Regions from separate parts of the Homo sapiens genome. Here region 1 is linked to region 2. The links are contacts of gene promoters, found by promoter capture Hi-C in human tissues and cell types (Jung and others, 2019). All regions are on one chromosome and are shown on one strand. The core of a region is centred on a gene start or on the middle of the fragment in contact, and the rest is flanking DNA. Distances in the headings are between cores, read along the strand shown.

Region 1 (2,822 bases), core at 180-2,679, 800 kb after region 2:
TGTCCCACAGCAGCTCCCGTGAGACCTGGAACAACACGGTTCAGACCAACTGGGCCAGAGGAGAGGAAGGAAGAGTGGCAGAGGGCTCAGGGTCAGATGTCTGAGCTTCTGTTCCCATGGGTGCCTCTCATTATGCTTGTCAGGAAGCAGAAGAGAGTGCAACCTTTGACCTCATCTGAACTAACCCATCTCACCCTGGTTTCTCTTCCCTGACTGTCTCCGAACCTGTTACCCCACTTGGAAAATCAGGGGGTAGTGCAGGGGTGAACCCTCCATTCTGGAATCACCCAGCCTCCAGTGGTTTCAGGTCCACACCCACCAGTTGTGTGACACTGGACAACTGGCTTTGCTCCTGCTCTGCCTCAGTTTCCCCAAAAAATTAGTTAATGCATGGAAAGTGTTTAGAAGAGATCCTCATAGACAGTAAGTGTGTCTGTTCCCTGTAGTGTCAGCTACTAACTGTATGGCTAGGAAAATAACAGTAACTCCCTCATCAGCTGTGCTGAGGATTCCATCAGATCATGTATGTAAAGTGGTTGGCATAAGCACACTTAGTGTTCAGTGTTTACTTGTCTTACTAAAGATCACAAAATGGGGCTACAGATCTTGGTCCCTGAAATGCTGGGGCATGAGCACGGTAGCTGCTGGGGGCTTCCTGGGAAAGGAACACAGGCCTTCCATGTCCCTGGGAGCCACATTGGTCTGATGGTGTTACTGAGTGTTGTGTTGCTGAACTGTCTGCTTAGTCACCTGCCTGCTACCTCAAACACATTTAAACCAACTCCTTCTGGACTGGCTTTCCCAATATACTATCCTGGCACTGTCACAGGCCTAGAGCACTGGGCAAAGTGTCAGACCTGCTGCAAAATACAGTTGGAACTTTATCTGACCCTTGGCTCCTGTCCCAAGCAGAAATATATTGGCAGGAACTTGCAGCAAAGCTGAAGCAAGCCTGGGAGCTGGAGGAGGAAGGTGGCCTGGGATGGCCAACCACATACTCCCCCCACGCCCTCCATCCTTGTTGGCCCCCCTTTTTATTTATACAGTGTTGCTAATTAATGCCATTCTTAGTTATGAAGCCGTGTTACAAACCTAGGGCTTAACTGTGAGCCCTGGATTTGTAGAGAAGGGATGGAAAGAGGGGAAAGAGAACCATTCCCCAAAAACTCAGGGAAGTACACTGCAGAGATTTCCTCTTTCTTCCCTCAGTGTCATTTGGAGCCGACTTTCTGGAGGCCAGGACAATCTTTTGCACAGTGGTGCTGTCCGGAACTCCCCCGAAAGAGCCCATGACAATGGCAGCAGGGACAGCCATGCCAGATTGGAACTTGGCCAGCTATGGAGGGGAGAATGTCTCAGCCTGGGTGTCTCCACCCCAAACCAAGGCCAAGGGCAAAGGCAAACCTCTCTTCCCTCCCGGTTCCATTTGGCAACTCCTGCAGGGAGGTCCCAGGCAAGTCTAGGAGGTCCCAGGCCAGTCTTAACAGGTCTTCCTGCAGGTACTCCTGGAAGGCCATTGTCTTAGAATAAAAGGAATTCCAGGGGCACCTCACCACAAGCACACGTTTGAGCATTCAAAAGAGCTCGAGCTCGTGAGTGAAAGGAAATGAGGAAAAAGAAACAATGTGGCATGACCAGAAAGAGTTCTACATGTTAAGTTGCTTTTTCTTGCTTTCTTTTTTTTTTTTTTTGAGACGGAATTTCGCTCTTGTTGACAAGGCTGGAGTGCAGAGGCGTGATCTGTGCTCACTGCAACCTCCCCTTTCCTGGTTCAAGTGATTCTCCTGCCTCAGCCTCCCAAGTAGCTGGGATTACAGGCGACCACCACCACGCTCGGCTAATTTTTGTATTTTTAGTAGAGACAGGGTTTACCATGTTGGCCAGGCTGGTCTTGAACTCCTGACCTCAGGTGATCCACCCACTTCGGCCTCCTTAAGTGTTGGGATTATAGGCGTGAGCCACTGCGCCCGGCCAAATTGCATTTTCTTTTTTCGTTTTTTCTTAGAGACAGAGTCTCACTGTGTCACCAGGCTGGAATACACTGGTGTGATCAGAGCTCACTGCAGCCTTGATCTCTCACGCTTAAGCGATCCTCCTGCCTCAGCCTCCCTAGTAGCTGGGACTACAGGCATGTGCCACCATGCTCAGCTGATTGATTGATTGATTGATTGATTGAGACAGGGTCTCGGTCTATCGCCCAGGCTGGAGTGCAGTGGCACAGTCTCGCTTGCTGCAACCTTCGCTTCCTGGGCTCAAGTGATCCTCCCACTTCAGCCTCCCAAGTAGATGGGACTACAGGCACTCACCATCATGCTCAGTTAATTTTTAAATCTTTTGTAGAGACGGGGTCTCCCTATATTGCCCAGGGTGGTCTCAAACTCCTGGGCTCAAGTGATTCTCCTGCTTTGGCCTCCCAAAGTGCTGGGATTACAGATGTGAGCCACTGTGGCTGGCCCTAAATTACATTTTTTGAAGGTCCAAAATTCCCATAGCACAGGTAATACTGTCAAGGCCTTAAGCTTGGCTGGACGCGGTGGCTCACGCCTGTAATCCCAGCAATTTGGGAGGCCGAGGCAGGTGGATCATGAGTTCAGGAGATGGAGACCATCCTGGCGACATGGTTAAACCCCATCTCTACTAAAAATAAAAAATATTAGCTAGTTGTGGTGGTAGGTGCCTGTAGTCCCAGCCACTCCGAAGGCTGAGGCAGGAGAATCTCTTGAATCCAGGAAGGGGAGGTTGCAGTGGGCCGAGATTGCGCCACTGCACTCCAGCCTGGGGGACAGAGTGAGACTCCATCTCAGAAAAAAAATAAAAATAAA
Region 2 (2,764 bases), core at 216-2,715:
TGTGTACTTATTCCTTTTAAGACAAAAGAAAAGCCTAATAAAATAGTAGTTCCTGAGACTAACTGGTTAATGAGGCTACCTCCATGCCACTGTTCCCCAAAACACCTCACCATATTCCATGAGCCAAAGGGAATTCATTTGGTGAGTTTCTTGGACCTTGGGAACTGCTGCCTGATGTTTTGCCTAGTTTCTGCTACTAAATTAACCTTAGCCAGTTGTAGATTATCATGGCTGCTGACTCATGAGCTGATGGTCACAGAGCTATTTATGTTTTTAAAAGTACAATGTTTGATAGAGATGAAAGGTAATAGCAGTCTTACCCAACTACTAAATGATGAGGCAAGGTGCTTTAACATTAAGAGTTTCTTTGAACTCCCCAACACAAATGATTCACACGTTTCTTATCCTGTTCATCTTTCCAGAAGAAAGATTATAAAGTACTACAGCGTGACAAAAAAGCCCATCTTGTAGTGAGCCGAGATCGCGCCACTGCACTCCAGCCTGGGCGACAGAGCGAGACTCCGTCTCAAAACAAAAAAACAAAACAAAACAAGACAAAACAAAAAAAGCCCATCTTGAATCTAGTGGTTACTTCCACCGTGAAGAGGCCAGGTTCCCTAGTATTTAAGAGACCTTTTTTTAGGCCGGGCGCGGTGGCTCACGTCTGTAATCCCAGCACTTTGGGAGGCCGAGGTGGGCGGATCACGAGGTCAGGAGATCGAGACCATCCTGGCTAACACGGTGAAACCCCGTCTCTGTTAAAAATACAAAAAAAAGTGGCTGGGCGTGGTGGCGGGCGCCTGTAGTCCCAGCTACTAGGGAGTATGAGGCAGGAGAATGGCATGAACCCAGGAGGCGGAGCTTGCAGTGAGTGGAGATCGTGTCACTGCACTCCAGCCTGGGCGACCAAGTGATACTTCGCCTGTGTTTAGAGTCCGTTTCTCCACGACTGTGGACCTCCATGGGACAGGGAAATATGGAAAACTGAGGAACCACGGGAATACAGCTTTGAAGGTCTCACTGACCTGCTTTATAGTTTGCTTTCTAAAAAATAATTTTCCCTCCTTTAAAAAAAAATAAAAATTAAGGCACAATGTGAGAGGTTGGCAAGTTCCATTTTTAAATGACTCTCCAAAAAAGTATCAGAAAATGATGAGCTGTGGTTACTGATGTAGCTCCACAGTTATGAGGCAAAACTATGGTTATATCCCTGGTTTCTGCAAAAAGGAAGAGATTAAGCTAAAATGTTAAAATGCTGTGACCACGACCTTTTTTCAAGTTCTGATCATGCCTCCCTGTGAAGTCCTTCCTGCACTTAGAAGCTGAGCAGGTTTCTGTTTCACTGTACTCACTCTGAATTCTTTTCGGGGCACCTTCCTAGTCCTCAGGAATCAGCACAAAAGAGGAAACTCCAAATGTTCACGTTCAACGGCTTCCGTTCCCTGGAGGGACCATTGCTGCTTCTGCCACACTTCCCAGAATCCTCCTAGAGATGCACTCTGGGAATTGTAGTTCAGTTCCCAGGCATGCTGCTGTGTTCTCCAGCTGCAAGTTAACCATGATTGTCAAAAGCATGAACATCTAAGATCTTATTACCAAGAGAACTACTGTATCCTTGGAGAAAGTAGGTTAGTATTAGATCCATTTTTTAATTAAAAAAAGATAAAGTCATTAAGTCCACCCTCATACACAGAAGGCATATATTATGAGGCTGGGGAGAGGATGAAGCAGGGGTGGGAATCAAATACCTTTTAACCTTAGTATATCTCTAGTTCTCTCTCTGCACACTTTAGAACTAGCTCTAAAATTTCATGAAGTTCTTCCAATTTAAAAGGATGGGACTCTGTATAGGTATGTATAGATATGTTTGAACTTATGGTAGGATTCATTTCTTGATCAGAGGAAGCGCATTCCATTTGACTGGAAGTAGTCTCCTAGAAGTGTGTCCGGAGTTGGTTCCTTCCAGTGGGTTCTTGGTCTTGCTGACTTCAAGAATGAAGCCGTGGAGCTTTCGGTGAGTGTTATAGCTCTTAAAGGTGGCACGAACCCAAAGAGTGAGCAGCAGCAAGATTTATTGTGAAGAGCGAGAGAACAAAGCTTCCACAGCGTGGAAGGGGACCCGAGTAGGTTGCCGCTGCTGTTGGGGGTGCCAGCTTTTATTCCCTTATTTGTCCCTGCCCACATCCTGCTGAATGGTCCATTTTACAGAGCACTGATTGGTCCATTTTATGGAGTGCTGATTGGTCCATTTGACAGAGTGCTGATTTGTGCATTTACAATCCTTTAGCTAGACACAGAGTGCTGATTGGTGCGTTTTTACAGAGTGCTGATTGGTGCGTTTACAATCCTTTAGCTAGACACAGTGCTGATTGGTGCATTTACAATCCTTTAGCTAGACACAGAGTGCTGATTGGTGTGTTTACAATCCTTTAGCTAGACACAGAGCACTGATTGGTGCATTTTTACAGAGTGCTGATTGGTGTGTTTACAATCCTTTAGCTGGAAACAGAGTGCTGATTGGTGCGTTTACAATCCTTTACCTAGACACAGAGCGCTGATTGGTGCATTTTTACAGAGTGCTGATTGGTGTGTTTACAATCCTTTAGCTGGACACAGAGTGCTGATTGGTGCATTTTTACAGTGTGCTGATTGGTGCATTTACAATTCTCTAACTAGACAGAAAAGTTCACCAAGTCCCCACTCCACCCAGGAAGTCCAGCTGGCTTCACCTCTCAGCAGAGCTACTTTGGTGCTGCTCTCTTCT

The links. Contacts are between HindIII fragments. The study calls those that stand out against the background at their distance.
Region 1: a fragment that was not itself captured here is called in contact with the fragment with the promoter of NUDT13 in region 2 in 1 of the 25 tissues and cell types used here (lymphoblastoid cells).

Annotation. Positions count from the first base shown.
Region 1 is chr10:72,313,840-72,316,661 of GRCh38, reverse strand. No RefSeq gene overlaps it. Among named protein-coding and RNA genes, the nearest start is that of DNAJB12, 40 kb to the left of the region's middle. The HindIII fragment of the contact is 5,549 bases long and covers 1-2,822 here.
Region 2 is chr10:73,109,156-73,111,919 of GRCh38, reverse strand. It overlaps NUDT13 (nudix hydrolase 13), which reads right to left and starts at 1,465. Exons shown (of 9, transcript NM_015901.6): 1 at 1,353-1,465. The HindIII fragment of the contact is 13,958 bases long and covers 1-2,685 here.